Linked DNA regions of Homo sapiens: all the other regions are linked to region 1. The links are contacts of gene promoters, found by promoter capture Hi-C in blood cells and fetal thymus (Javierre and others, 2016). All regions are on one chromosome and are shown on one strand. Each heading gives the region's core, a stretch centred on a gene start or on the middle of the fragment in contact. The rest is flanking DNA. Distances are from core to core; before and after follow the strand shown.

Region 1 (4,129 bases), core at 896-3,395:
AGATCTGCACTGGCCTAAGCAACCTACCAGGTGCTAAGCACCTTCTCGGAGAGATAGAGATTGTAATGTTTTTACATATCTGTCCATCTTTTTCAGCAATGACCCACTTTTTACAGAAGCAGGCATGGTGCCAGCATAAATTTTCATATGCTTAAGAATTGTCACATGAAATGAGGATGTTTATAGCACACTTTCCTTGCGTGGAAGAGCTATAACCCAGGGACCTGAGTGCCTCTCTGGGAATAGTCGGGGGAACCTATTTGTGGGCATTGAAAAAGTTTTTTCACTTTCTATGGTGATGGGAGCCTGAGGTCATCTTTTCTTGATGGGGCTGAGAGGTGTGTATCAGGGGAGAGGGTCAAAGAGTGTGTGTGTGTGTGTGTGTGTGTGTGTGTGTGCATGTGCATGCACGTGCACGCAGGCATGCATTGGTCATGGGTTTCTTCACACACTTCAGGTTCCTCTGTAATGGTAAGTGGGCAGGCTGTCCTAGGAGGTGAAGAAATGTCCAGAGCTCATTTGAACTCCTGTCCCCCTTGAATGAGGTACTCAGAAGCCAGGAGAGCCAGGCTAGGAGCATGTGATTTCCCATATAGAAGACTCATTAAGAAAGATTATAGGCCGGGCGCGGTGGCTCACGCCTGTAATCCCAGCACTTTGGGAGGCCGAGGCGGGTGGATCATGAGGTCAGGAGATCGAGACCATCCTGGCTAACAAGGTGAAACCCCGTCTCTACTAAAAATACAAAAAATTAGCCGGGCGCGGTGGCGGGCGCCTGTAGTCCCAGCTACTCAGGAGGCTGAGGCAGGAGAATGGCGTGAACCCGGGAAGCGGAGCTTGCAGTGAGCCGAGATTGCACCACTGCAGTCCGCAGTCCGGCCTGGGCGACAGAGCGAGACTCCGTCTCAAAAAAAAAAAAAAAAAAAGAAAGAAAGATTATAGAGAATTATCAAAAGATTCCAAATCCAGCATTAGGTCCCAAGGCCTCACACACAGGACTGTGGAGCCTCCGTCTGAAATCCAGAGAGCTGGGATTCACAGACACCAGCAGCTCAGGTGTCAGGCAAGAAGTGGGACTTCAGGATCTGCAGCCCTGGGCTCCCATGGGGGCTCTGCCGAGCTGCCGGAACTTGGACAAGTCATTTAATTCCCAAGAATCTCAGGTCTTCCTCGGGAGAAGGTGAACTAAATTTATACCCTGCTCCCAGCGTTACTGTGAGGATTCGGTGTACGCGGAAGCCCATTACAGCCTAGAGCCCTAATTATTAATAGGTGTGTGTGAGAGGGAGGCCTCATTATTACCAGGTGAGAGACAGGGAGCTGGGATCGCCTACCTGTGAGTGGAGGAGGCTCCCTCGAGCACCTCCGTATCAGCGGCGTGGGAAAAGCACGTGGAGCGCCCACCGCGCTAGGCGCATGCGCGGAGCAGGAGCGCTTACCAAGCTGGGCGCATGCGCGGAGCGGGCGCCTCTGGGCGCGCTCCCCGTGGCCCCGCCCTCCCCACAGAGCCGCAGACTCGAAGCTTCACACCTTTATTGTGTCCGGGGGCGTCCGGGGCCTCAGGGGTGTTCGTAGCCCGTGGGCAGAGGGTTCACGTGGCTATTGTGGAACAGAGTGTGGTTGCCGTCCCCCCAGGGGTAGGGCTGTGGAGAGAGCGGGGGAGGGAGCGCGCGTGAGCGCCGTGAGTCCGGAGTCCGCGCCCCGCGCGACCCCCCCCCCGCAGCACCCCCCCCCGCCCCCGCAGCACCCCCCCCCGCCCCCGCAGCACCCCCGTGCCGCCCGCGCGCCCGTCCCGCGTACCTTGGTGCGGATGCGGAGGTGTTGGTAGGGACGGAACTCGGGGCGCGGGCGGTGGCCCGAGTGGAGATAGGAGTTGAAGGTGCAGAGGGCCACGCTGGGCAGCGCCAGCACGAAGGTCAGCAGACGCCAGGTACGAGCTGCGGACGGAGCGGGGTGAGCGCGGCGGTCCTGGGGCGGCGGGCCTGTGAACAGGTGGGCAGGGTAGGGGAGCCCCCGGATCCGCCCGTTCCCCACTCACCTCCTGCTCCTCCGTGGCCTCCTTTGGCAGCGCTGGCCAAGCCCCGGGTCAGGGGCCTCAGAGGCAAAGCCATGATGGTGCGGGGAGCCGGGAACCAGCGCTGTCCTCGCTCCCTTTCCTGGGGCCTGGGGTCACCTCCCCTCTCTGGGCCAATCACCTGTTGAGTCTGGAGCACTGGCGGCTATTCTTAGGGGTTTCTATATTTAAAATGGGGCCTGACTGGCTTGAGGTCATCTCCAGACAGCTGTTGTCCTGTGCCTCTTATTTTGGCAAGGAGGCATTTAAGTACAATATGCCATTCTTTTTATATAGTTGCAGGGAAACTATTTTGTTCCCTATTCTATGCCTGGTGGCTGGCACACAGTTGGGCTTTAATAAATATTTGTAGAATGAATTAAGTGTCTTTTTGAGTCTCAGTGTTTTCAGCTGTAAAATGTATAATAATTCGTACCTTAAAAGATTTTTTAAATACTGGAGACGGGGATCTCACTATATTGTCCAGGCTGGTGTGGAACTCTTGAGCTCACGTGATCCTCCCGCCTCAGCCTCCCACAGTGCTGGGATTACAGGCATGAGCCACTACACGGCCCTTACATCATTTTTATGAAGTTTATGTAAGGTAGGAATGTGTCAACCTGGATTTTGGCAGGTAACAGTAGTTCAGTATATGTATTAGTCACAGTTCTTTGCAAAGAACAGAACTCACTCTTACTAGTTTTAGAAGATAAGTAATTGAGAATCTTAGGTAGCTTACTATGTCTGATATAGCCAGAGATGCCTACAGTCTGCACAGTCATAAACAAGTCATTCCGTTGGCCAGCTGCAGTGACACCCCCACAGCTCACACTGCTGGACCCTGGATGCCAAAAGCTTCATTAAGGCTGCCCTGGAAAACCAGAATTTTCCACCCTCATCCCCTCTTGAAAACAGATTCTTCATGAAACCTGTATCCTGGGTCGCTCTTTTCTGAAAGAATTATGTGATTGCACCAACTGGCAACCCCTAGGTCCCCCAGCTGCAGGAGGGGATGGGAAACTGAGCTCTGGATTCTGCCTTAGGGAGGCAGGAATTGTAGGGAAAATCTCCAGGTCTAGGATGAGTATTCAAAAGGTTCCAGGCAGCCACAAGCCTGACAGGTGTCTACTGCAAAGTGCATTATTTCAATCTGAAAAATATGACTACTTGGAGAAAGCAAGCCTAGACAGGGCTGGTGTGAACCCTCTATCAAAGCAGGTCACAAGAAAGCCACAAGACCAGGCAGGGATGACATCTGCCTGTTCTGTCCTCAGCAACGGGCAGGGACCTTGGCATGAAGGAGGTGTTCTAAAAATATGTATGTAATGAATGCTTGAACCTTGTTACTTTGGTTAACCCTACAACAATGCCTTTTCAGAATTACAATCCAATAGGAAGCTTCTAGCTTTGATCAAGGGCTGATGTACTAATATGAACTTAATATACAAAAGAAGAATGAATTATATAGACATATAATCTGAATTTAATATATAAAAAAAACGAGGAAGATATATTTTCAAGAAGGGGCTCTATACCTGTTTCTCATTGGTAATAAACTGAACAGTATGTTCCATCCAACTTTAAGCTGCTGCTATTTTTAAAAAAAATAACCTCCTTGAGCAGTCAAATGTTATACAGTGTTACAAAAATTATTCCTGAGCTCTCACTGAGCTATAATAGAATTCTTCCTACAGTTTTTTTCCCAGCTGGACTTTGGCATTGTTGCAGAGAAGATGGGGCCCTATTCCAGTTAAAGATACCTGGCATCTCCCTCTACACATAGCCCCCTCCCTACGTATATAAGATAATGGCTCCTGGAGAAAACAGACATGAAGACAGGTATTTTTACTTGACAAAGTTCTAGAGGCCTGGCATAGTGGCCCACGCTTGTAATCCCAGCACTTTTGGGAGAATGAGGAGGGCGGATCACTTGAGGTCAAGAGTTTGAGTCCTGCCTGGCCAACATGGTGAAACCCCATCTCTACTAAAAATGCAAAAATTAGCTGGGTGTGGTGGCCCGTGCCTGTAATCCCAGCTACTCGGGAGGCTGAGGCAGGAGAATCGCTTGATCCCAGG
Region 2 (4,129 bases), core at 1,020-3,519, 390 kb before region 1:
CTTCCACCGTGTGCCACTCAGAGACACAGAGTAGGAGGGGGAAGGGGGTCGGGTGGCAGGGGACAAAAGATGCAGGAGGCAAGCAGCAGTGACTGAAGAGGCAGAGGCTGACATGAAAGACCCAGGAGCAGAGAATCTTTCCTTATCATCTCCAGGGGACACCACTGGGCAGGGCTTGGCCTCCGGAAAAACCCTGCATTCCCTCTGTGGGTTCATCAGGGCACCACTCTCCTACTAGCTGGGTTTTTTTTTTTTGTTTTGTTTTGTTTTTGAGACAGAGTCTTACTCTGTCACCTAGGCTGGAGTGCAATGGCGTGATCTCAGCTCACTGTAACCTCCACCTCCCATGTTCAAGCAATCCTCCTGTCTCAGCCTCCCAAGTAGCTGGGATTACAGGCACCTGCCATCATGCCTGGCTAATTTTTGTATGTTTGTAGAGACAGGGTTTCGCCATGTTGGCCAGGCTGGTCTCCAACTCCTGGCCTCAGGTGATCTGCCTGCCTCAGCCTCCCAAAGTGCTGGGATTACAGGCATGAGCCACCACACCCTGCCTGAGCTGGGTTTTAACAGGAAGAGGAGAAGAGCCAAAACTCCTCACATAGAATCACACAGCACTTGACAGTTTCCAACCTCATCATCACTGAAGTTTAGAGCAGCCGATACCCATAAAGATGATCTCCCCATCCCCCTACAGTTACCCACTGTGCAGAGGGAGATCCACACTTAGAGACAGGAAGCGATTTCCAGAAGTCCATAGCAACTCAGTCCCAGGAATCTAGGTTTCCTGACCAGGGCATAGCAGAAAGGGTCCATTCCTTTCCTTGCTTGTACCTTCACAGAAGCTTCCTGGACAGAGCCCTGGGGTCCAGGAGACCTGTTATTCATTCCCGGCTATGCTGAGACTTGCTGAGTGACCTTGGGGACTCCTTCTAGAGAATATAAGTTCCACGAGTGCAGGAATTTTTGTCTATTAGTCCTTGATGTATCTCCAGCCCTAGAACAGTGTTTGGCCCATACTATGTGCCCAAAAAATATCCATTAAATGACTGAATGTTGCTGTGCATGGTGGTGCATGCCTGTAATCCCAGCACTTTGGGAAGCTGAGGCAGAAGGATTGCTTAAGCCCAGGAGTTAGAGACCAGCTTGGACAACATAGTGAGACCGCATCTCGTAAAAATTTTTAAAAATAAAAAATGAGTGAATATCTAGATAGCCAGGATTAGAGAAGTGTCACAGTCAGAAAGCCTGAAGCCTAAAGAAGACCAAGGAACCAGGGGCTTTATCCTCAGATACATGAAAGCCTGAAATTCTGTCCACAAGTATTTATAGAGGGCCCGTAATGTTCTTGGTACTGGGCTAGGAACTCCCCAGATTCAGTTAAGAACAAAGTCATTACCTGGCCTCAGATGCAAGGCAGGGGCTGGGGGGTGTGAGTGGCAGGGAGGCAGCGTGATCAATACAAACACTTTTCTTAGCCTGAGCTGCCCTGACATGGTCTGACGGCTCACAAGGTGGTGAGTGCAGCCGGGCTGCAGTGTTCAAGGAGGGCGCCGGCTGGCCGCCCACCTGTCAGAGGCTGCGCCAGAAGGATGCGGAAGAAGAGATTTCTGCCTTGGCTGAGGTCACTTCCCACCCCCAGATTCCCTGCCCACACAACCCTGCAATTTTCTGACGCTGACGACTCGGATCCTATTATTTCCCGATTTTCAAGGTCCCATGATGCTGACAGCCCCAAATGCTAAGTCGTCAGTCCGCCCACGCCCTGGACCCGAAAGCAATAAAGGCGAGGTCAGCAAGGGTCCTACCACCCACTGCCTCGAAAGGCCTCTGGGGGTGGTCGGCGCGCCCCTCCCCACCTCGCGGGGGCCGTGTGGGCGTCGCTCGGTCGTTGGGGTGCCGGGGACGTCGTGATGAGAACGGCGTCCCAGAGACGGCGGTGACAGAGCCGGGACACGTGACAGTCACAGGGTCACATTCTGCGGTCCACGAGTTTGGGACCGGGCTGGTCACGTGACGCGGTGGGGGCACCATGGGGTGATGTGAGATGCGGGTGTCTCGGATTACGTACAAATGACGTATTCCTACCCCTTTTGGCAACCAGATTTCCGTTGGAAGATGCAACGGTTCCGGTGACGGTAGCAAGTTCTCGCGTCCAGGCATCTCCGCTTCCGCTCGGGGCGCAACAACTTCCGACTCCACCTTCCCAGCCTCGGGCAAGGAAGAGACGCGACCATGTGCGCATGCCCCGAATTTATCACGGAGGGGCGGGGCTGAGGCTGCGGGAGCTGGAGCGGGGAAGAAAAGGGAATTCCAACCTGTGGAACCTTGGGGGGTCCCCGGGGTCGGCGCCTTCCCATTGACTGTGGGCGGTGCAAGGGACGGAGCCTCTGGCGGCTCGTGGGGGTGTTGGGGTCCGCAGGGGGAGGGAGGGGAGTGTCAGAGTGTGAGCGGGGTACGGGAATTCCAAATTTGAGGGCCTCCCGGCTCTGGCGCCGGGGAGGGAGAGCTCAGGCCGCCATGCGGGACAGGACCCACGAGCTGAGACAGGTGAGACGCCAGGGCAGCGGGGATGGGGACGGGCGGACGAACTGGAACGCAGGACTTCTGGTCTTCGGGATAGGGAGGGGTGGCTGATGGCCAGGAAGGAAAGTCCCGGAAGCCTGTGGGTCCTGCGGGGTAAGAGCCGCAGCGAAACGGTGGTGCCAATGACTCCGGGCCTGGCAGGGGGATGACAGCTCGGACGAAGAGGACAAGGAGCGGGTCGCGCTGGTGGTGCACCCGGGCACGGCACGGCTGGGGAGCCCGGACGAGGAGTTCTTCCACAAGGTAAGGGGCTGGGGTCTCCGCCTGGATTCGCGAGGGTGTAGGAGGACCCGAGGAGTAGCGTGGTCTGGAGTACCCCATATCTCTTTCAGCCCTCTCGGTCACCCTCCCCAGGTCCGGACAATTCGGCAGACTATTGTCAAACTGGGGAATAAAGTCCAGGAGTTGGAGAAACAGCAGGTCACCATCCTGGCCACGCCCCTTCCCGAGGAGAGTGAGTGAAACCCCGGCTGCAGGGCGCATGCTCCGCCCCAGGGATTGTGGGGGTTGTAGTTCCACGCAGGTGGTGGCCAGAGTGGTTTGTTGAGGTGGGGGCTGCTGTTTGGGAGTCTTGGCCTTCTCTTATTCAGGCATGAAGCAGGAGCTGCAGAACCTGCGCGATGAGATCAAACAGCTGGGGAGGGAGATCCGCCTGCAGCTGAAGGGTGAGCTCCTGGGACCTCAGACAGATCCTTCCCTCTGATCCTGCCCTGTTGTTGGTATATCTGGGGAGTGTGTGGCCCAGAGAAGCCAGTGATATATCCAGGTCACACAGCAGGCCTGGGTCTAGCATCTGTCTCCTGGCCTCCAGGCCATTGTACTCTCCACAGCACAAGTCCGCCTCTCAGGTTCTTTTATTTACAATGAAACCATTTACTTACACAGTTATCGCTGCCCACTGGGCATTCTTTGGGCAGGGAGATGGAGTTTTGTTAGGTGGCCTCTGCATACCTATGGGAACTCAGTGATGTAATGCAAAGAAAAATAAACTTACTTTCTCCTCTTAGAGGCTCAGCCTTAGTCATTTTATGATAAATTATATTTCCCTAAAAATCCTATGGAGACAAGTACCCCCAATACCCCTGTGTCTTCCCACAGCCATAGAGCCCCAGAAGGAGGAAGCTGATGAGAACTATAACTCCGTCAACACAAGAATGAGAAAAACCCAGGTGGGTTTTTTTTCTCAGAAATGAGGACATTTCAGCAAATGTTTCATGAAGTATTAGATGACAGGTGTATGAAGGAAGGGCCTGCAGAGATCATGGAGTCCAATTGGATGACTTTTCCAAATGGGGAAACTGAGCTCAGAGAGAGAAAGAACTTGCTCAAGGTCAGGAAGCCAGGTCTCCTGATGCTCAGTCCGGTTATAACACCCTGCTTTATTTTCTTCCATTCAATAGGAAGTTACTGTGACCCCAGACAAGACCTAGTCTTGGCTGTGGGACACATGTTTTCTTTTCTTTTTTTGCCTCAGCCTCCTGAATAGCTGGGATTACAGGCGGACACCCCCATGCCCAGCTAATTTTTGTAGTTTTAGTAGAGACTG
Region 3 (4,129 bases), core at 1,014-3,513, 360 kb before region 1:
TTTTTGACGGAATCTCATGATTATCTATCAAGCAGTTCTCCTGCCTCAGCCTCCTAAGTAGCTGGGACTACAGGTGCCCGCCACCACGCCCGGCTATTTTTTTTTTTTTTTTTTTTTTGAGACGGAGTCTCACTCCGTCACCCAGGCTGGAGTGCAGTGGCACAATCCTGGCTCACTGCAAGCTCCGCCTCCCGGGTTCATGCCATTCTCCTGCCTTAGCCTCCTGAGTAGCTGGGACTACAGGTGCCCGCCACCACGCCCGGCTAATTTTTTGTATTTTTAGTAGAGACAGGGTCTCACTGTGTTAGCCAGGATGGTCTCAATCTCCTGACCTCGTGATCCACCTGCCTCGGCCTCCCAGAGTGCTGGGATTACAGGCGTGAGCCACTGCACCCGGCCCAATCCCGGCTAATTTTTGTATTTTTAGTAGAGATGGGGTTTCACCATGTTGGCCAGGATGGTCTCGATCTATTGACCTCGTGATCCGCCCGCCTCGGCCTCCCAGAGTGCTGGGATTACAGGTGTGAGCCACCGCGCCCGGCCCTTTTTTTGAGACGGAGTCTTACTCTGTCCCCCAGGCTGGAGTGCAATGGCACAATATCTGCTCACTGCAACCTCCGCCTCCCGGGTTCAAGCGGTTCTCCTGCCTCAGCTTCCCGAGTAGCTGGAATTATAGGCGCCCGCCACTACATCTGGCTCATTTTTGTATTTTTAGTAGAGAGAGGATTTCACCATGTTGGCCAGGCTGGTCTTGAACTCCTGACCTCAAGTGATCCACCCACCTTGGCTTCCCAAAGTGCTTGGATTACAGGCATGAGCCACCGCACCCAGCCCTCTTTACTTTTTAAAAAATGTTTTTATTTTTATTTATATATTTATTTTTGAGACAGAGTTTCACTCTTGTTGCCAAGGCTGGAGTGCAATGGCACCATCTCTGCTCACTCCAACCTCCGCCTCCCCGGTTCACGAGATTTTCCTGCCTCAGCCTCCCGAGTAGCTGGAATTACAGGCATCCACCACCACGCCTGGTTAATTTTTTGTATTTTTAGTAGAGATGGAGTTTCACCATGTTGGCCAGGCTGGTCTCGAACTCCTGACCTCAGATGATCCACTGCCTCGGCTTCCCAGAGTGCTGGGATTACAGGCATGAGCCACCGTGCCTGGCTTATTTTTATTTATTTTATTATTTATTGTTATTATTATTTGAGACAGAGTCTCCCTCTGTTGCCCAGGCTGGAGTGCAATGGTGTGATGTCAGTTCACTGCGACCTCTGCCTCCTGGGTTCAAGCAATTCTTCTGCCTCAGCCTCCCAAGTATTTGGGATTACAGGTGCCTGCCACCACAGCCAGCTAATTTTTTGTATTTTTAGTAGAGATGGCCATGTTGGCTAGGCTGGTCTGGAACTCCTGACCTCAGGTGATCCACCCACCTTGGCCTCCCAAAGTGCTGGGATTACAGGCTTGAGCCACCATGCCCGGCCTATTTATTTCATTTTTATTTATTTATTTTCTTTGAGAGAAAGTCTTTGTTGCCCAGGCTGGAGTGCAGTGGCTGCATCTCAGCTCACTGCAGCCTCCACCTCCCGGATTCAAGTGATTCTCCAGCCTCAGCCTCCCGAGTAGCTGGGACTACAGGCGAAAGCCATCACACCTGGCAAACTTTTGTATTTTTAGTAGAGACAGGGTTTCACCACATTGGCCACGCTGGTCTCGAACTCCTGACCTCAAGTGATCCGACCGCCTCAGCCTCCCAAAGTGCTGGGATTACAGGCGTGAGCCACCGTGCCTGGCCTTTATTTTTATTTAGAGATTGGGTCTCACTCTGTCACCCTGGAGTGCAGTGGCTCAATCATAGCTCACTTCAGCCTCAAACTCCTGCACTCAAGCAATCCTCCTGAGTAGCTAGGACTATAGGCACCCACCACCACACCTCGCTAATTTATTAAAAATTCTTTGTATATAGAGATGGAGGTCTCACTACGCTGCCGACAGTGGTCTCAAGAACTCCTGGCTTCAGATGCTCCTCCACTATGGCTTCCTAAAGTGCTGTGATTACAGGCATGAGCCACAGTGACCAGCACCCCTCCTCTCTAATTTCCTTTATGGTGTCATCTGGACAATACTCCTTGCAAGCTTACCATGGGCAAGGTATCATTCTAAGCATTTTGTGCATAATACTCAACTACTCAAGCCAACTGCACAGCTGCCTAGCAGTTCATTATGAGTGAATGTTTGTGTTCCCTGTCCATTCATATATTGAAATTCTAACTCTCATTGTGACTGTATTTGGAGACAAGGCCTTTATGGAAGTAATTAAGGCTGAATGACGTCATAAGGGTATGGCCCTGGTCCAGTAGGATTAGCGTTCTTATGAGAAGTGACACCACAAAGAAACAAGCTTACTAGTCACGGTCCCAGCCAGTGTTCAAATCCCAAACACCTGCTCTCTGAGCCCTGACTATTGCTTTGCTAGCATTACACATCTTATGGTTTGGCTGTTAATTCTTCATCACCAGCACCAGAGTCCAGGCTGGCAAAGGGCTAGGAAACCGATCATCTGCCTCCTCTACACCCAGAACCCTGTGTGGTGACCCAAAACAAATGGAAAGAACCAACCTCAGATGAAATTTGAACCCAGGTCTGTAGCCTCTGCCTCCTCCACAGTAGGAGTTTGTGAGAATGTCCACCAATAACTGTTTATTAACTAAATTCCTCCACCTTTCCAACTCCACAAGGCTCAACTATTGCCCCAATATCCCACAGTGGGCTCCCTGTCGTGGCGATGAAGCCTTGCTTTGCCTCACTACTGGCTTAGGAAGGGGATGAAGTTCTGCTGTCTCACTAGGCAAGCAAAGATTCAATTTCCAAAAATCCTAGGCTAGGACCCTGGGGCAGGGATGAGGAGAAAAAGGAGGCACCTCAATCTTCCCATCTCTAAACAAGCAGTCACCACACAGGCCTCACGGCCAGGAGTGACGTAGTGAGCGGATGAACCCTGCAGAAGTGAGCGCTAATCATATCCTAGGCCTCCTACCGGGCCAGTTCACAACCTGATCCCAACCTACTTTTCCAGCCTCAGCTCCAGCGACAGAGTCCTCCTCCCGGCAGCGACCGAACCTCCAGCCACAATTCTCAATCCTCCACCTCTAGATGCAGTTTCCTGGGCTCGGGGAGCCCTTGCCTGCCTTCTCCAACGGGAAAGCCCCTTTACATCCTTCAAGAACCCCCTTCCCTAGTGCCCTCAGGAATACTTTATGGCAGTAGAGAGGTAAGGGCCCCACGCCGCTCTGGACCTCAGTTTCCTCATCAGTAAAATGGGGTCCCTTAAGTTTGTGGGAGTTTGAAGGGCGGTGGGGCCTACGAAGCGCGCCGAGGAGCCGAGAGTTGCAGAAACCCGGAGCTCCTCGCTCCTCGCAACCGTCTGTACGCGGCGCCCCCGCCAGCCAGGCAGCCCCTGGAGGGCAGGACCCCGGTTATAAGCCTCAGAAAACGTGGCTTCGGAGGACGTGGCAAGGAGGACTGAACGAAGGATGAGGAGATGAACAAATGAATGGACGGAAGGCCGAATGAGGGACAAAGGCTTGCAAGATGGCGTTCTCTAGGACCGCGGGAGTGGTGGCCGGGCCTCAGCAGGGGAGGGGGCCGCCGGCGCCTGGGATCTTGCAGCGCGGGCCACGCGACCGGGACAAAAACCCAAAACATGGCGGGCTCTAGGACCCCCGGGACCACACCGCGCCGGGCCAGCAGCCGCGCGGGCCGAGCCTGGGTGTCCGCAGCCCAGAACCGCGGAGACAGCCGGCGGGTTCTAGGACCTGCTGGGCCCGCAATGCGCCCGGGGCCGCTCACAGCCCGCCCCGCCCGCGCTGCTCGCGCTGGGCCAACCCGGCCCGCCCTCGGCGCCCGCAGGGAAACTGAGGCCAGCTCGGATCGTGGCCGCGTGGGAGCTGCCCGGGGCCCTCGCGGCTTCCCGCCGACGTTTCCTACCTGATGAGACTTGTGCTGACTCCGTGGCGTCGGCGTCGGCTCCTCGCACCGACGGAGCCCGGACCCTGCCAAACAGGGGCCGGCGCTAGGACCCAGCGGGGGGCGGGGAGGTGGGACCGGTGGCGCGGCGAGCGGAAGTGAGGGA
Region 4 (4,129 bases), core at 909-3,408, 340 kb before region 1:
GCCCTGGGCAACTGCAGGGCAGCCACCCCCACCTCTTCGGCCCCAGGGCTGAGTCCCTCACGCTGCAGAGAACCCAGGACCACTGACCAGGAATTCAGTTCTGTTGCTGCTGCCCTGGAAGGGGAAGGACAAGGTCCAGGCTGCTGAGTGCAAGGGTAGACAGTGACACCATGGGAGACCCCACAGGTAGGTGGAAGATAGCAGAGAGCACTCCACGGCTTTTTCTTTTTGAGGTAGGGTCTCGTCCTGTCGCCCAGGCTGCAGTGCAGTGGCATGACCATGACTCACTACAAGCCTTGACCTCCCAGGCTCAAGCGATCCTCCCACCTCAGCCTCGTGAGTAGCTGGGACTACAGGCGTGCACCACCATGCCTGGCTAATTTTACAGTTTTTGTAGAGACATGGTCTTGCTATGTTGCACAGGCTAGTCTTGAACTCTTGGGCTCAAGCGATCCTCCCTCCGTGGCCTCCCAAAGGGCTGGGATTACAAGCGTGAGCTACTGTGCCCGGCCTCAGTCTGTGACTTTAAGCGAGGTCATTCCCTTGCAACCTGAGTTTTCTGATTTGTAAATCTTCTACCATGAAAGGTGGTTGTTACAATTAACTTGACAATATGTACCCAGTACATGGCAGATTCTCAGTAAATGGTTCTTTATTATTACTCTAGAGGCAGGGACTAGCCTTGTGGGGCTTGAGACAAATTGTCCACTCCCCAGAGCCGGAGACCCTGCCTGACCCCAGCCATGACTTACTTTTCAAAGCAGTGGGCAGCAGTGAGGACCCAGGTGTCTGCCACCAGGGAGCCGCTGCAGATGTGGGCTCCTTGCCTCCTCACACTGGCCTGCCAGGGCCACTCGCCAGGGACTGTGTTGCCCTCCTGAGGCTTGGGGGGGCCGGGGCCACGCTGTCCACAGGCTGTGGAAAGGAGTTAGTCACACTGACAGCAGATACCTGTCCTGACCTCACCCCAGTCCCAACCCAGACCCAAGTAAGACCTAGGCCCCGTGTCCCCAGACCTTACCACGCTGAGCGGCTTGAAGACCTGGGAAGAGAGAGACACAGGTAAGATGCAGGGACTCCAGGCCTGCCTAGCTTTGGGGAGGAGAGGGGATGGGCTGGGGGGCGGGCCCAGGGTCCTTGCCTGTGACTCTGATTACCTTACCAGCCCCTCCCAGAATGAAAATATTTATATGAGGCCGAGACAGCTTTTATTGGAACCTATTCAGTGTGCACACTCAGTAATTAATTCTCCTTCAGCTGTGCTCAGCACTCTGGGGCTTGGGGTTCAGCTTGGGAGTAGGCCAGCCCTCCTCCAGGCTTCAGAACCCCCAACTCCTGCCCCCGCCACTGAGTCAGCCAGGCGGCCTGTGTGTGTAGAGAGCATTAGCTTAATTGTCCTCTTAGCAGCAGAGGCCTAAGAGGAAGGATTAGAGGCCTGCATCATTTCCAAGTGGGGAGGGCCCCAAGAAATGGAGACTTACCTCACCCTGGTCTAGAGACTCAGTCTTCCCCACCTTCCCAGAAACTGTCTGAGAGCCCGCCAGAGAGAGGGCCCCTGCCCACCGCCCCTCACAGGCACACAGGCACCCCATGAGACAGCTGAGCCAGGCTGCCCAGAGGATGGATGAAAAGAAAGGGAAACTGAGGCCAGAGGAGCCCAGAGTTTGCCTGACGTCATTGTGGAAGTCGAGGGGGAGGCAGGCACAGGACACACGCAGGCAGCACCTCACACACACACAAGACCACAGGCCCCGCCAACGCAAACTGCAGCTGGCCCGAGAAAATCTCATCCATGTTGACACAGGTGGCCACATATACCACCCCACAGAGTCCTACGGAGTTACATCCCCACTGGTGGACTGTCGCCCACAGGCGGTCCCCCCACCAAGAAGCAGGGACTGCTGGGGCAGAGATGGCCCCTGAGCCCCCACCAGGCCACACCCATACCCCAGCACATGGCGGCTTACCCTCCATGAGGACTGTGGCACCCGCGATGAGCAGCACTGGGCCCCAGCACCACTTCATGCTGCCCCGGGCCACTCTGCCACCTGTGCTCCACTCTGAGAGAGGCCACCTGGGTCTCCCTGGCTCCACCTCTGCTCCACCTCCAGTTGGCTAGGATTCAGCTGTCTGCTTGCCCTAGCCAGCAGTTCCTAGCTCTGGGGCTGTGGCTGTGTGACCCTAGGCTTGTCACCACCCCTCTCTGGGCCTTAGCCGTGGAGCCAAATTGTCTGGGTTTAAATCTGTTTCCTTACTACTTGAGTGGCCTGGGAGAGCTAACCTGCCTGTGCCTTGTCTGAGAAACAGTTGTTGAATGGAAAACGTCTCAATGACAGCCTGGCACAGGGCAAGCTCACTCCCAGCATGAAAGTGCCATCCTGGAACCATGGAGGGCACGTGGGCAGCTCCTCCCAGTCCCCACTTTTCATTTCCACTCCCCCACTTCTCTTCCAGCCAGGGCTAGGTGGGTTTCACATGCCTTCTCCCAGGTCTGCTCAGAGACAGTGTGTGCCAGGCTGAGTGGTGAGGAGCCAGCACCCACTGCTGCTTGCTCGCTGTGAGCCTTTGGCAAATCCCAGTATCTCCCTGGGCCTGCTGGCTTCCTGGGAAACAGGGTGACAGCGGTGCCCACCTTCCTCATAGGCGCAGAGGACTCGGTCAGGCGGGAAGAACACTTTGGCGCGTGCCTCCTCTTCCTCTTCCCACTCCTAACTCAGGCTGGCCCAGACCATTCAAGAACCCTGACCCCAAGACAGAGGCAGCTGTGGGTAAGGTTTAGCATATATTATAGATGCTGGCCGGGCATGGTGGCTCACGCCTGTAATCCCAGCACTTTGGGAGGCCAAAGCAGGCAGATCACCTGAGGTCGGGAGTGCGAGACCAGCCTGACCAACATAGAGAAACACTGTCTCTACTAAAAATACAAAATTAGCCAGGCCTGGTGGCGCATGCCTGTAATCCCAGCTACTCGGGAGGCTGAGGCAGGAGAATCACTTGAACCTGGGAGGTGGAGGTTGTGGTGAGCCGAAATTGTGCCATTGCACTCCAGCCTGGACAACAAGAGCGAAAGTCCGTCTCAAAAACAAACCAACAAAAAAAAAAGCATATAGATGCTGGAGCCAGATGGACCAGGTGGATTCAAATCCTGAGAGCCTCCTGCAGTAGCTGTGTGATCTCAGGCATACTAATTAGCCACTCTGTCCCTATCATCAAGATAGGGATAATAATAGTACCCACCTCATAAATCACTGTAAAGATTAAACGAGTTTAACACGTTAACACAAGTTTTTTTTTGTTTTTTGTTTTTTTTTGGAGACGGTCTTGCTCTGTTGCTCAGGCTGGAGTGCAGTGATCATGGCTCACTGCAGCCTCAACCTTCTGGGCTCAAGCAGTCTTCCCGCCAGCTTCCCGATTAGTTGGGACTATAGGTACATACACCACCATGCCTGGCTAATTTTTTTTTTTTTTTTTTTTTGTAGAGACAGGGGTCTCACTATTTTGCCCAGGCTGGTCTGGAACTCCTGGCCTCAAGTGATCCTCCTGCCTTGGCCTCCCAAAGTACAGGGATTACAGGTGTGAGCCACTGCACCCTGCCAACACAAGTTCTTAAACAGTGCTTGGCATGTAGGTAAGTGGTCAGGGCATAATAGGCAAAACAAAAACCTTCACAACCTGGCCCTGACCCTCCAAGGCTACCAATACTGGCTTGGAATGGTCGATAAGGCAACTGGAGGGGTTAAAGTTAAACTCAAGGAAGAACTTCCCAGCAAGCATTTACAGAACCAGAAGGGCAGCCTGCCCTTCCAGGTGTGTGCTCAGCCTTCCCAGGAGAGGAGGCCTGGCTCCTGTGGGCAGCAGGAGCGAGCTGCCAGCCTGTTTCCTGGGGGTGGGGGCCAATGGTGCCCCAGGCCTTGCTGACTCCACACACTGGAGATGAGACTACCCATAACCACCCTTCCCAGCAGGCCCTCCACTCTCCCTCTGACTCACCCTTCCCAGCTCCAGAGAAGGCAACACCGAGGGAGGCCCAGCACCACAGTCCATGGCAGACACATGGTTCAGACTTGGCTGATTGATCTAAGAAACTTTATTGCTCAGAACCTTCCCTCCCTGGGCAATGGAAAGAGCT
Region 5 (4,129 bases), core at 1,409-3,908, 320 kb before region 1:
AAAAAAAAAAAAGAAAGCCGCCTGACCTGTATACAGTATTCTGAAAAGGGGGTCGCGAGGTGCATGTCCAACCTCCGCCGCCGGGGGCAGCAGCGAGTCCAGGCCGAGCCGGGGCCTAGCGAGCGGGGTCAAATGGGGTGAGGCCTGTGCCAGACCTCTCCACCTCGGTGGCAGCCGCAGCCTCCTCCGCCTGCGGCTCCTGTCCACGCCGCGGCCACGTGAGCGCCAGATTCTGGCGCACAGACCACTGCCAGTCCTTTGCTGCTTTGCGCAGCCTGTCCTCCCCGCCAGGAGCACCCTTCCCGCTCCCTTTTACCACGGGCTCCAGCCGTGGCTGCCTTGGGGCTGCCGCCGCCTGGCTGTACTCCAGGACGTTGGGAAAGAACGGGTGGGAATGGTGTGGGTGGGGGTCAAAGAGGAAACCCAGAGATGCAGGGCGCCCCTTTCCCGTGGTCTGCCCCCAATTGCTCAGGCAGGCCAGTCACGGTGAGGCGTCCTCCCTCCAAGTTTATATTTATTATTATTTATTATTTATTTTTTTCACCTTCAAGTTTATTATTTATTATTTATTTATTTATTTTTGAGACGGAGCCTCTCTCTGTCGCCCAGGCTGGAGTGCATTGGCACGATCTTGGCTCACTGCAACCTCCGCCTCCCGGGTTCAAGCGATTCTTCTGCCTCAGCCTCCCGAGTAGCAGGGATTACAGGTGCATGCCACCACATCCGGCTAATTTTTGTATTTTTAGTAAAGACAGAGTTTCACCATATTGGCCAGGCTGGTCTCGAACTCCTGACCTCAGGTCATCTGCCCGCCTTGGCCTCCCAAAGTGCTGGGATTACAAGCATGAGCCACTGCACCTGGCTAACCTCCAAGTTTAAAGACAGCCGCCAGGCCCAGTGGCTCACTCCTGTAACCCCAACAACTCAGGAGGCTGAGGCCAGGAATTTGAGACCAGCCTGGGCAACATAGCGAGACCCCGGCTCTAAGAAAAATAGGCCAGGCACGGTGGGTTACGTCTGTAATCCCAGCACTTTGGGAGGCTGTGGCAAAAGGATTGCCTGAGGGGGAAAAAATCACCCTGGGGGTAGTGGTGCACACTTACAGTCTCGGCTACTTGAGAGGCTGAGGTGGGAGGATCATTTAAGTCGGAGGCTGCAGTGAGCTACTATGGAGCGACTGTATTACAGCTTGAGCAACAGAGCGAGACCCCATCTCCAAATAAATAAATAAAGATAGCCTCCAAAGATGTCACTTGCTTCACTTAGCACTTTTTATTGAACATATTTAGGAAATATATAACCATGGTAAAGAAAATTGCAATTAGTACAAATACACACTACACACATATGCACGTGCACACACTGAAACGTGTCCCTTCCAGCGCCTCCTGCCTGGATAATTTTTTTTTTTTTTGCAACGGAGTTTTGCTCTTGTTGCCCAGGATGGAGAGCAGTGGCGGGATATCGGCTCACTGCAACCTCCTCCTCCCGGGTTCGAGCGATTCTCCTGCCTCAGCCTCGCGAGTAGCTGGGATTACAGGCGCCAGCCACAACACCCGGCTGATTTTTGTATTTTTAGTAGAGACGGGGTTTTGCCAAGTTGGCCAGGCTGGTCTGGAACTCCTGAGATCCGCCCACCTCGTCCTCTCAAAGTGCTGGGATTACAGGCCTGAGCCACTGCGCCTGGCCTAAAGTAATTGTCTTCTTATTGGTTTCTCTGCCTTTGGTCTCACCAAACGCCCCACTCTAAATCACTGCAGACAAGGGGTTCTGTCTAAGGAGGAGAGCCCACCAGTTAAAACCCTTCAGTAGTTCCTAACTACCCTAGGACAAATGCAGACTTATCCTTCGCTCTCTGCTGCCGCCCCTCTCCTTCCCAGATCCCATATGGCTCCAGCCATATCCTCAGACCATCTGGGCTGTTGTCTGTCCTGCCACACACCCTTCCCACCCCGCTCCCTTGCAAGTCCTACTCAGGCTGCACCTACACAGCTGTCTCAGTTTCTATCTGAGGCTCCCGCAGCCTCCTCTGAAAGTCCTCATCACAGCCAATGATACTGAAACTGTTTTCTTATGCAGGGCACGGAAAGATCTATTCAACTCACTGCCCAATCTCCTCTCCTGGTGCAGAAAAGACACCCAGTCAGCGACTTGCATTATCTGCAGGCATGAGTGAATAATAATAATGCCTAACCCTTATATAGTGCTAATTCCACGCCTGGCACTGTTCTAGGCACTCATATAAATTCATGTAATCCACACAACCCCAAAACTGATGATATCTCTTCATCTTACCAAGCACTGAGCAGTTAAATAACTTGCTCCAGATATTAAGGGGTCGAGCTGGGGTTTGAAGCCTGGTTACCCATAAATGAACCAAGAACTGGAAGGAGGACAAGAGCTCCGAGAAGGAGTCAGGTAGGGCGTGATCTGTGCGCTTTACATCTAAGATCTTCCAGCTCCCAGGGAGCCCGTTTCATAGAGCAGGAGATAGAGGCTGGGAGGGACACGGAGAGCCTCGAGAGCCGTGTGGAGGAAGCGGTGCTGTTTGGGGTCCGGGAGCAAGGGCGTGGCCTGGATGCGCGGGCGCCCGGGACGGCACGTCCTCAGACCAAACTACAACTCCCAGGACCCAGCGGGCGCTGCCGCCCACGCGACGTCACGGCGGCGGAGGGCGCAGGCGGCTGGGCGCCTGGCGAGTGGACTGTTCGAGCCCTTCCGCTGGGACCCGGGCCCTGGCTCCGGCCCCGCGGTAAGTGGGGCGACCCCAGCCTACTCAGTCCGCGGAGGCCCCGCGGCGCACGTCCGCAGCCTCCATCACAGCGCGGGCGCGCAGACGGGGCTGGCATCTACCATATGGGGGGCATCCGGGCCGAACCAAGTGACCCGCGTGGGGGGTCCCGCTGGGGACTCCGTGCCGCACCCTCCCAAGCCGGCCCCAGGGGCCCAGGGCTGGTGTCGCACGTTCGCTGGCCGCGCTCCCAGGGCCCGGGTTTGAAGGCGCTGGGCAGGCAGGGGCAGCCCCGCCCCCTGAGAAGGGTACCCGGGACCCCGGGGCGCTGGGGCGAGGTTTTCGGGCTGGAAGGGTCTGAGGGGCTCCTCCCCCGACAGCCCTCCCACCGCCAGTAGAGCCTCGGGTTGGGGAATAGAAGCCCCCGGGAGGCTAGGTCCTTTGGGCGCGGCCTGTGTGCATCTGGGGAGACGGTGGGAGTGGTGGGGAGAGGTCGCCCGGGTCTGGGGAGACCGATGCACAGGTGGAGAGATGGTGCGGGTTCTGTGGATTCGGATCCTTACAACTTCCTCTTCCCCGCCCCGGTAGATGGGAGCTGCTCTCCGCGGGCTGAGCCTGTCAGCATCCTCGACGCACCCTGGTCCCTGAAGTCGGAGAAGAGCCCCTACCCACCCACACCCCCTTGCCCCATTTTGGGTCGCCTGGGTCCTCAGTCCTAGCGGATCCTCAGTCCTAGCGGCCACCGGGTCTGAAAGGAGCAAGACGATGATCCTGGCGTCGGTGCTGAGGAGCGGTCCCGGGGGCGGGCTTCCGCTCCGGCCCCTCCTGGGACCCGCACTCGCGCTCCGGGCCCGCTCGACGTCGGCCACCGACACACACCACGTGGAGATGGCTCGGGAGCGCTCCAAGACCGTCACCTCCTTTTACAACCAGTCGGCCATCGACGCGGCAGCGGAGAAGGTGCGCAAGGGGGCAGCCAGCCCAGGGTCCGGGATGTAGGCGGGAGGGAGAGTGTTGGGGGTTCTCTGCTCAAGGCCTCTCTCCCTCTCTAGCCCTCAGTCCGCCTAACGCCCACCATGATGCTCTACGCTGGCCGCTCTCAGGACGGCAGCCACCTTCTGGTAAGATTCACGCCCTCTATTTTCCTCGTGGATCCTGGAGCTCTCCCAGACACTCAGGCTCCAGCCCCGCCTTCCCTTCTCATTTTCTCCCAGAAAAGTGCTCGGTACCTGCAGCAAGAACTTCCAGTGAGGATTGCTCACCGCATCAAGGGCTTCCGCTGCCTTCCTTTCATCATTGGCTGCAACCCCACCATACTGCACGTGGTAAGGTAGAGAGGACCTTAGGTCAGCGGGCCACCCTGCCCCGGGGGCAAGTGGGGAGTCTGGGGCCCAGAGT
Region 6 (4,129 bases), core at 862-3,361, 300 kb after region 1:
GGGTTATTTTTGGTTTCCTTGTTCTGTCCCATTGGTCTATATGTCTTTTTAGGTCAATATAATACTCACTATTAGTATAGCTTTGTAATAGTTTGGAATGAAGAAGTGTGATGCCTTCACCTTCATTCTTATTTCTTATGATTGTGTTGGCTATTTGTGGTCATTTGTGGTTTTATAGAAATTTGGAGGCCAGATGCAGTGGCTCACACCTGTAATCCCAGCACTTTGGGAGACCGAAGCAGGTGGATCACTTGAGGCCAGGAGTTCAAGACCAGCCTGGCCAACATGGCAAAACCCCGTCTCTACTAAAAATACAAAAATTAGCCAGGTGTGGTGGTGCATACCTGTAATGTCAGCTGTTGAGGAGGCTGAGGCAAGAGAATTGCTTGAACCCAGGAGCGGAGGTTGCAGTGAGCCAAGATCACGCCACTGCACTCCATCCTGAGCAACAGCGAGACTCTGCCTCAAAAAATATATATAAAATAAAATAAAATAAATTTTAGAATTTATTTCTATTTCTCTGAAAAGTGACATTGGAATTTTAATAGGGATTACACTGTATCTGTAGATCACTTTGTGTAGTGTGGACATTTTATCAGTATTAATTTTTCCAGTCCATGAACAAGGGATATCTTTCCATTTATTTGTGTCTTTTTCAATTGTATTCATCACTGTCTTACAGATTTTACTGAGCAGATCTTTCACCTCCTTTGTTAAATGGAATCATAAGAATTTTATACTTTTGATGCTATTATAAATTGGATTGTTTGCTTAACTTTTTTTCTCAGATCATTAATTGTTAGTATATAGAAATGCAACTAATTTTTGTATGGTAATTTTGTGACCTCAGCTTTACTGAATGAGTATTAGCTCTAACTCTTTTTGTATACTCTTTAGGGTTTTCTGTATATAAAATCACCTAATCTGCAAGCAGAGAAAATTACAATTCTTCGTTGCTGATATGAGTGCCTTTTATTTCTTTTTTTTACCTAATTGCTCTTGTTGCAGGGCAGGTGAGCCCCCAGATTGGGGCTTATCCTGGGAAGGTTCACGGCTTCACTCAGGAAGAATTCAAGTGCAAGATAGTGGTAGAAGAAAACAGCTTTATTGAGCTGGCAGTGTTGCAGCTCTATGACTGCTCCTGTGGAGCGAGGCTACCCTGTAGGCAGTGTGCTGAGAGGAGCAGTTCTGCAGTCATGTACTTATATACCCACTTTTCATTACATGCAAACTAAGGGGCAGTGTTTTTTCCCTTCAATTTTTTGGAAGAATTTGAGAAGGATGGACATTAATTCATCTTTAAATGTGTGATACAATTCACCCATGAATTCATTTGGTCATGGGCTTTTTCTCATTGGATTTTTTTATAACTGCTTCAATCTCCTTTCTTATTATTGGTCTGTTCAGTGTTTCTGTTTCTTTGTGATTTAATCTTGGTGAGTCATTCATTTCTAAGAATCTGTTTCTTCTAAGTTATCCAATTTGTTGTCATATAATTGTTCATAGTAGTCTCTTATTATTCTTTGTGTGTTGTCAGTTGTAATGACTCATCCTTCTTTCTTTTATGTATTTATTTATTTATTTATTTGAGACAGGGTCTCACTCTGATGTCCAAACCAAAGTGCAGTGGCATGATCATAACTCACTGCAGCCTCAACCTCCCAGGCTCATGTTATTCTCCCATCTCCCAAGTAGCTGGGACTACAGGGGTGTACCACCATGCTCAGCTAATTTTTGTATTTTTTAGAGAGAAGGGTTTCATTATGTTGCCCAGGCTGGTCTCCAAATCCTGGGCTCAAGTGATTTACCTGCCATGGCCTCCAAAAGCACTGGGATTACAAGCATGAGGAAGTGCACCCAGCCCACTTATAATTTTTTGAGTCCTCTCTCTTTTTGATCCTTTGCTTAATCTGGCCAAAAGTTTCTCAATTTTGTTTTCTTTGAAAAACTCAATTCAGTTTCTTTGATCTTTTCTATTGCCTTTCTAGTCTTTATTTAGTCTCTTTTTGTTCTAATTCTTACTATTTTCATAATTATGCTAACATTGGGATTATTTTGTTCATGTTCAAGTTTCTTGAGGAATTGAGTTAGATTGCTTATTCAACATCTTTTTTTTTCTTAATGTAGAACTTTATTATTATAAACTTCTGTACTAGAACTGTTTTGGTTGCATCACAGAAGTTTTGGTTTCTTGTGTTTCCAATTTCATTTGTCTCAGGATATGTTTAGATTTTTCTTTTGATTTCTTCTTCATCCTATTGATTTTTCAGGAGTGTGTTGTTTAATATTTACGTATTTGTGAATTTCCAGTTTTCTTTCTGCTATTGATTTTCAGTTTTATATCAGTGCAATCAGAAAAAAAAACTTGATATAATTTTAATCTTTATACATTTGAAAAGACTTACTGCTTTTTACTTTTGGTTTAACATGTGATCTGTCCTGGAGAATATTTCATGTATTCTTAGAAGACTGTATTCTCATATTGTTGGATGGGATGTTATATGTACATTTAGTCTATAGTGTTATAGTAGTGCACTGCTTTCTTAATTTTGTGCCTGAATGATCTATCCATTTTAAGTAGGGTACTAATGTTCTCTTTTGTTGTATTTCTGTATATTTCTCCTTCCAGTTCTGTTAATGTATGCTTTATATATTTAAGTATTCCAGTGTTGGGTGCATATATCTATTTAATTGCTCTATCCTCTAGACAAATTAACCTCTCTATTATTATATAGTTAACTCCTTTGTCTCTTGTGACAGATTTTGTCAGACAGCCTGTTTTGTCTAATGTAAGTATAGCTACCCCTGCCTGCACTCTTTTGTTTATCATTTGTATGGAATATCCTTTCCAGTTCTTTCACTGTTAGCTTATGTTTGTCCTTAAATCAAAAGTGAGTCTCTTGTAAGCAACCTGTCACTGGATTTTTAAAAATTCATTCAGCCACTGTCTGTTTTAAATCCATTTTGTGCTGCTATATCAGAATATTCACAGGGTATTTTATAATGAAATGGGTGATTTATAAGGAATACAAATTAATTTAGCCTGTGATTCTGGAGGCAGGGAAGGCAGAGAGCATGACACTGGCATCTGGTGAAGACCTTTTTGCTGCATAATAACATGGCCAAAGGCACGAGGGGGAGAGAGCTCCCTTTTATAACAAACGCACACTTGTGATAATTAACCCACTGCTGTGATAAGGACATTAATACATTCATGCAGGCAGAGCTCTCATGGCCTAATCACTTCTTAAAAGTCCCACTTCTTAATTCTATCACAGTGGCTATTAAATTTTAACCTAAATTTTGGAAGTGACATTCAGTCTTTATCAATGTCTGTTTATTGGATAATTTAATCTCTTTATATGTAATTATTGATAGGTAACTATTATAAGTTTGTTTTCTATTTTATACTTTGTTTCTTTTTTCCTCTTATGCTTTGGTCATGTTAATTTTTTGTCTTGTTTTTGTTGTTTTTATATACTTTGATTACTTTCTTTTTTTCTTGTATCTACTACAGTTTTTTTTTCTCTAGTGGTTATAAGACTTACATAAAACATCATATAACAGCCTAGTTTAAGATGATAATTATCCAACTTTTATGCATAGAAAAACTCTATGCTTTTCCTCCCCTTCACACATTTTATACTATATATGTCACATTTTAAAACTTTTTATATTTTGTATTCATTAACAAATTATCATAGCTATACTTTTAAAAAATAGTTTTGTTTTATAGTTCTTATACTAGAATTAAAAGTGACTTATGTACCACCATTACAATATTCGAGTATTCTGAATTTCACTATTTACCATTTCCAGTGATGTTTGTAGTTTTAATGTTTTCATATTTAGTTAGCATTTCATCACTTCAACTTGAGTAATTCCCTTTAGTCGTTTAGCATTTCTAGACAGGTCTAGTGGTGATGAATTCCTTTAATTTTTTTTTTGGTGGGGGGGTCTTGAAATGTCTTCATCTCTCTTTTATTTCTAAAAGATGCTTTGTTGTGTATAGCCTACTTAGTTGTCTTTTTTGTTTGTTTGTTTGTTTAATTTTCCTTCTTTCAGCACTTTTAATATATGGTATCACTCCCATTTGGCCTGTAAGGTTTCTGCTAAAAAATCTACTGAT
Region 7 (4,129 bases), core at 658-3,157, 300 kb before region 1:
GTGACCTCACCTCTTTGTGCCTCAGTTTTCTCTCATACAACAGGGACAATGAGCACTCTTATTTCAAAGGCTCATTGTGAGGAACAAAATGAAATAATGTCGGCTGGGTGCAGTGGCTCATGCCTGTAATCCCAGCACTCTGGGAAGCTGAGATGATTGGATCATTTGAGGTCAGGAGTTCGAGATCAGCCTGGCCAATATGGTGAAAGCCCGTCTCTACTAAAAATACAAAAAGAGGCCAGGCGCAGGCAGACCACGAGGTCAGGAGTTGGAGGCCAGCATGGCCAACATGGTGAAACCCTGTCTTTACTAAAGATACAAAAAATTAGCTGGGTGTGATGGTGCACACCTGTAATCCCAGCTACTTGGGAGGCTGGGGCAGGAGAATCGCTTGAACCCAGGAGGCGAGGTTGCAGTGACGTGAGATTTTGCCATTGCACTCCAGCCTGGGCGACAGGGCGAGGCTCCATTTCAAAAAAAAAAAAAAAAAAAAGGCTATGGCTCATGCCTGTAATCCCAGCACTTTGAGAGGCCAAGGTGGGTGGATCATCTGAAGGTCAGAAGTTCAAGACCAGCCTGGCCAACATGGTGAAACCCCATCTCTACCAAAAATACAAAAAATTAGCCGGGCTTGCTGGTGGGCGCCTGTAATCCCAGCTGCTTGGGACACTGAGGTGGGAAGATCGCTTGAACTCAGGAGGTGGAGGTTGTAGTGAGCCAAGATTGCACCATTGCTCCAGCCTGGGCAACAAGAGCAAAATTTCATCTCAAAAAACAAAATAAATTAGCTGGGAATGGTAGCAGGCACATGTAGTCTCAGCCACTTGGGAGGCTGACGTAGGAGAATCACTTAAGCCCAGAAGGCAGAGGTTGTGGTGAGCTGAGATCTCCCCACTGCACTCCAGCCTGGGCGACAGAGTGAGAGTCTATCTCAGAAGAAAAAAAAAAAAACATGTCTGTGCCGTGCTTGCCACTTGGAATAAATGGCAGCTCACTAGTCCCCGAGGGTAAGGGACCTCACCTTGCCCTGCCTGTTTACTACTCTGTAAAATTGAAATAACGCAGCTGGGTGCAGTGGCTCACGCCTGTAATCTCAGCACTTTGGGAGTGCGAGGCTGGTTGATCACCTGAGGTCAGGAGTTTGAGAACAGCCTGGCCAACATGGCGAAACTCCATTGCTACTAAACATACAAAAATTACCTGGATGTGGCGGCATGTGCCTGTAGTCCCAGCTACTTGGGAGGCTGAGGCAGGAGAATTGCTTGAACCTGGGAGGCGGAGGTTGCAGTGAGCCGAGATGGTGCCACTGTACTCCAGCCTGAGCAACAGAGTGAGACTCCGTCTCAAAAAAAAAAAAAAAAAAAAAAGAAATAACACTCTATGTAAGGGTTACTGAAAGGATTAAATGAGGCCATATAAACATATAGGCACAGTGCTTTGTGGAGGGGGTTCTGGGTAAAGCACTGGCTCCTTCCTCCCTTCTCAGCTACAGGGCAGGGCCTTGTCTGCCCTGGTGTAGGTCATGGACCGTCTTGGGTCCCCCTTCCATTGTCAGGCTGTACTGGGTTCCTCCCACAGGGTCTGGCCTAGGAGCAGGATGTGTTGTGAGTGTGGTGTGACTCTTAGTCTCTGCTTTCTAAGGACTTGAAAAATAGAGGAACCCAGGTGGGCATACTTGGACAGTGTTGCCCTGTTGACCACTTCTCGCTGAACTTGGGAAGGAGGGAATGTTTTCTGGATGGGAAGAATCCAGTCAGGCCTCCTGGAGGGGGTGGTAAGAATCTCAAGCCTTGAAGGATGGGAAAGAGCACAATAACAACAGTGACAAAGGATAGATCACAAAGCATCATGGACTCACCTGACTCATGCTCCGTGCCAGGCTGAGGAAGTGTTTTCTGCTGGCAGTGAGAGAAGGAAGGGCATTCTCCAGGTAGAAGGAGCTGTTTGTGCAGAAGCATGAAGGCCGCTAAAAGGGGGCTGCTGATAGCAATGAGGAGGCTGGGGCTGGAGGCAGGGAGTCTGAGGCGGCCTAGTAAATTGTCCAGACCTGAGATGGGGCCATGACTACCTGGAGCAGGACAGAGAGGAGAATTCCAGAGAGGGCCCAATTCCAGAGATGTCAGAAGTAGACTCGACATCCACTGTATTAGGACTTGGCCAGGCCGAGGGAGAGAGAGTAGTCTGAGGCAAGCCTAGTTATGGGTCTTGGACACTGGGACCAAGGGTGATGTTCCCAGTAAAATGAGCAACCCAGGAGGAGGCGCAGGTTTGCAGGGAGGAGTGATGAGGTCCTTTCTGCACATCTTGAGTCCGCTGTCCCTGTGGGAGGGACCTCTGGGGCAGTCGCATGGGCAGGCAGGGTCTGGTCCTCAGGAAAGGGGTCCAGGAACATCGGGGAGGTAGTAACAGTTCTTACGCTGGGCCTGGAAGGCAAATCTGTTATTTCATTTGAGTCTCACAACTTTGGCAGAGCTGGATTGCCCCCCATCGTGCAGCTGAAGCCCCATCCTGATCCTAACCCTGTTCATCTGGCAAAAGGTCCAAACTTGGACATCAGGGATGTCTGGGATATCGGGGGTGGGGCGGGTGGGTGTGAGAGGAGTCTGGACCAGCCAGCTTCAGAACCAAGTCAGATAGGTTAGCTATTGGTGTGGTTATTATTGCCATCCAGGAATGAGGTCTGGTAGACGGCAGGGAAGCCTTGTGGGTCCTGACGGGAGGGACAGCCTGGTCACCACTTCTGTTCACCTCTGCCCACTTTTCTTTCCTGGCCCAGACTTATGCAGAGATGGACCCCACCACAGCAGCCTTGGAGAAGGAGCATGAGGCGGTAAGTGGGGCTGGGAAGCTGCCTGCAGGTCCCCCGTCTCCCCTTGCCGAGGAGCCCCTGCTGAGCCGTGCACTGTGCCTCACTCCCACCCTGCCTGCAGATCACCAAGGTGAAGTATGTGGACAAGATCCACATCGGGAACTACGAAATTGATGCCTGGTATTTCTCACCATTCCCCGAAGACTATGGGAAACAGCCCAAGCTCTGGCTCTGCGAGTACTGCCTCAAGTACATGAAATATGAGAAGAGCTACCGCTTCCACTTGGTGAGGCTGGGCCGGCCGGGCCGAGCTGGGCAGGGGCCCGGTGAGAGGCAGAGGCAGGCATGGAGACTGAGGGCGGCTGCGCCGGCAGCTCCAGGGAGGAGACAGGCCCAAAGGAGCGAGTACAGGGAAGAGCTGCTGGGGGTCAGGAGGCCTGGATTCCAGGCCTGGCTTTGCTGTTGCTGGCAGGGTGACCTTGCCAACTTCAGACCTCAGCTCCTCTTCTCTGGAATGGGGACAGTAACTCACCCCCTTCAGGTCTTTTGCCAAGGCCAGCTCCATCCCAGGAAGCACACATAGCCCCTGGCAGTGGGACCTTAAGTGTGGATGAAATTGGGGGCTGTCAGGAAGGGGCGCTCTCATCACTGACACAGTGGGCTGCTTCCCGAAGTGTGGAATCTGAAGCGAATAGGTGTGGTTTAGGGAAGCCATTGTCATGGACGGGTCCCTCCAGAGCCAGGCCCACAGAGACTCAAAACCCCACCGTGCTGTGTGATGTTTGGATCTCTGTGCCTGGGCCTTGGTCTGTAAAAGCAGGATCACTTTCCTAAGGCTGCTGGGAGGATTACTCGATGTAGGTGAAGTGTTGAGGGGGGAAACAGAGAGGCAGAGACTTGCTCCAAAGCATGCAGTGGTGGGTTGGGTGCCTCCTAGCAGAGAACATATGGGCAGCGAACCTGTTCTCTTGTCCCCGACCAGGGTCAGTGCCAGTGGCGGCAGCCCCCCGGGAAAGAGATCTACCGCAAGAGCAACATCTCCGTGTACGAAGTTGATGGCAAAGACCATAAGGTGAGTGGGTGGCCAGGGGTTGGGAGAGGCCGGGGAGGCCCTGGGCACCTCCCAGATGATCCTCATCACCACCAAAGGGGAGGGGGCAGCCTTAGCTGAGCCTCTATGGGCAGAATGCCTCTGAGGGGCCGGGCACTGCAGCTCACACCTGTAATCCTAGCACTTTTGGAGGCTGAGGTGGGCAGATTGCCTGAGCTCAGGAGTTTGAGAGCAGCCTGGGTAACATGACGAAACTCCTCGACTAAAAA

The links. Contacts are between HindIII fragments. The CHiCAGO score rates a contact against its expected background, and 5 or more counts as called.
Region 2: the fragment with the promoter of STX4 here is called in contact with the fragment with the promoter of COX6A2 in region 1 in 9 of 17 cell types (M0 macrophages, megakaryocytes, total CD8 T cells and 6 more); the score reaches 10.1 in M0 macrophages.
Region 3: a contact is called between a fragment that was not itself captured here and the fragment with the promoter of COX6A2 in region 1, in 16 of 17 cell types (total CD8 T cells, naive CD8 T cells, M1 macrophages and 13 more). The highest score is 14.4, in total CD8 T cells.
Region 4: a contact is called between the fragment with the promoter of PRSS53 here and the fragment with the promoter of COX6A2 in region 1, in 2 of 17 cell types (monocytes and megakaryocytes). The highest score is 7.3, in monocytes.
Region 5: a contact is called between the fragment with the promoter of BCKDK here and the fragment with the promoter of COX6A2 in region 1, in 4 of 17 cell types (monocytes, M0 macrophages, megakaryocytes and 1 more). The highest score is 7.8, in monocytes.
Region 6: a fragment that was not itself captured here is called in contact with the fragment with the promoter of COX6A2 in region 1 in 1 of 17 cell types (erythroblasts); the score reaches 5.6 in erythroblasts.
Region 7: a fragment that was not itself captured here is called in contact with the fragment with the promoter of COX6A2 in region 1 in 6 of 17 cell types (M0 macrophages, naive CD4 T cells, M1 macrophages and 3 more); the score reaches 10.4 in M0 macrophages.

What each region holds. Positions count from the first base shown.
Region 1 is chr16:31,426,215-31,430,343 of GRCh38, forward strand. It overlaps COX6A2 (cytochrome c oxidase subunit 6A2), which reads right to left and starts at 2,146. Exons shown (of 3, transcript NM_005205.4): 1 at 2,039-2,146; 2 at 1,801-1,937; 3 at 1,517-1,643. The coding sequence starts at 2,111. The coding sequence ends at 1,560. ITGAD (integrin subunit alpha D) reads left to right here. Exons shown (of 30, transcript NM_005353.3): 30 at 1-291. The HindIII fragment of the contact is 1,386 bases long and covers 1,521-2,906 here.
Region 2 is chr16:31,031,289-31,035,417 of GRCh38, forward strand. It overlaps STX4 (syntaxin 4), which reads left to right and starts at 2,270. Exons shown (of 11, transcript NM_004604.5): 1 at 2,270-2,547; 2 at 2,725-2,826; 3 at 2,938-3,037; 4 at 3,174-3,248; 5 at 3,682-3,752. The coding sequence starts at 2,518. RefSeq lists enhancers at 1,594-2,105, 2,618-3,128. The HindIII fragment of the contact is 4,602 bases long and covers 841-4,129 here.
Region 3 is chr16:31,069,675-31,073,803 of GRCh38, forward strand. It overlaps ZNF668 (zinc finger protein 668), which reads right to left. Exons shown (of 3, transcript NM_024706.5): 1 at 3,985-4,129. It also overlaps a transcript of ZNF646 not described here. Among named protein-coding and RNA genes, the nearest start is that of ZNF668, 2.5 kb to the right of the region's middle. RefSeq lists enhancers at 3,442-4,129, 3,534-3,828 and a silencer at 3,717-4,129. The HindIII fragment of the contact is 265 bases long and covers 2,132-2,396 here.
Region 4 is chr16:31,086,785-31,090,913 of GRCh38, forward strand. It overlaps PRSS53 (serine protease 53), which reads right to left and starts at 2,159. Exons shown (of 11, transcript NM_001039503.3): 1 at 1,968-2,159; 2 at 1,022-1,042; 3 at 753-915; 4 at 1-114. The coding sequence starts at 2,025. It overlaps VKORC1 (vitamin K epoxide reductase complex subunit 1), which reads right to left. Exons shown (of 3, transcript NM_024006.6): 3 at 4,070-4,129. RefSeq lists an enhancer at 1,836-2,336. The HindIII fragment of the contact is 23,145 bases long and covers 1-4,129 here.
Region 5 is chr16:31,105,728-31,109,856 of GRCh38, forward strand. It overlaps BCKDK (branched chain keto acid dehydrogenase kinase), which reads left to right and starts at 2,659. Exons shown (of 12, transcript NM_005881.4): 1 at 2,659-2,752; 2 at 3,320-3,691; 3 at 3,784-3,852; 4 at 3,946-4,056. The coding sequence starts at 3,497. RefSeq lists enhancers at 1-775, 2,383-3,276, 3,277-4,129 and a silencer at 2,512-3,051. The HindIII fragment of the contact is 13,040 bases long and covers 1-4,129 here.
Region 6 is chr16:31,726,292-31,730,420 of GRCh38, forward strand. The region is part of intron 3 of KRABD5 (KRAB domain containing 5); the gene reads left to right. Among named protein-coding and RNA genes, the nearest start is that of KRABD5, 15 kb to the left of the region's middle. The HindIII fragment of the contact is 8,496 bases long and covers 1-4,129 here.
Region 7 is chr16:31,124,259-31,128,387 of GRCh38, forward strand. KAT8 (lysine acetyltransferase 8) reads left to right here. Exons shown (of 11, transcript NM_032188.3): 4 at 2,777-2,830; 5 at 2,931-3,095; 6 at 3,792-3,881. Among named protein-coding and RNA genes, the nearest start is that of KAT8, 8.7 kb to the left of the region's middle. The HindIII fragment of the contact is 7,764 bases long and covers 1-4,129 here.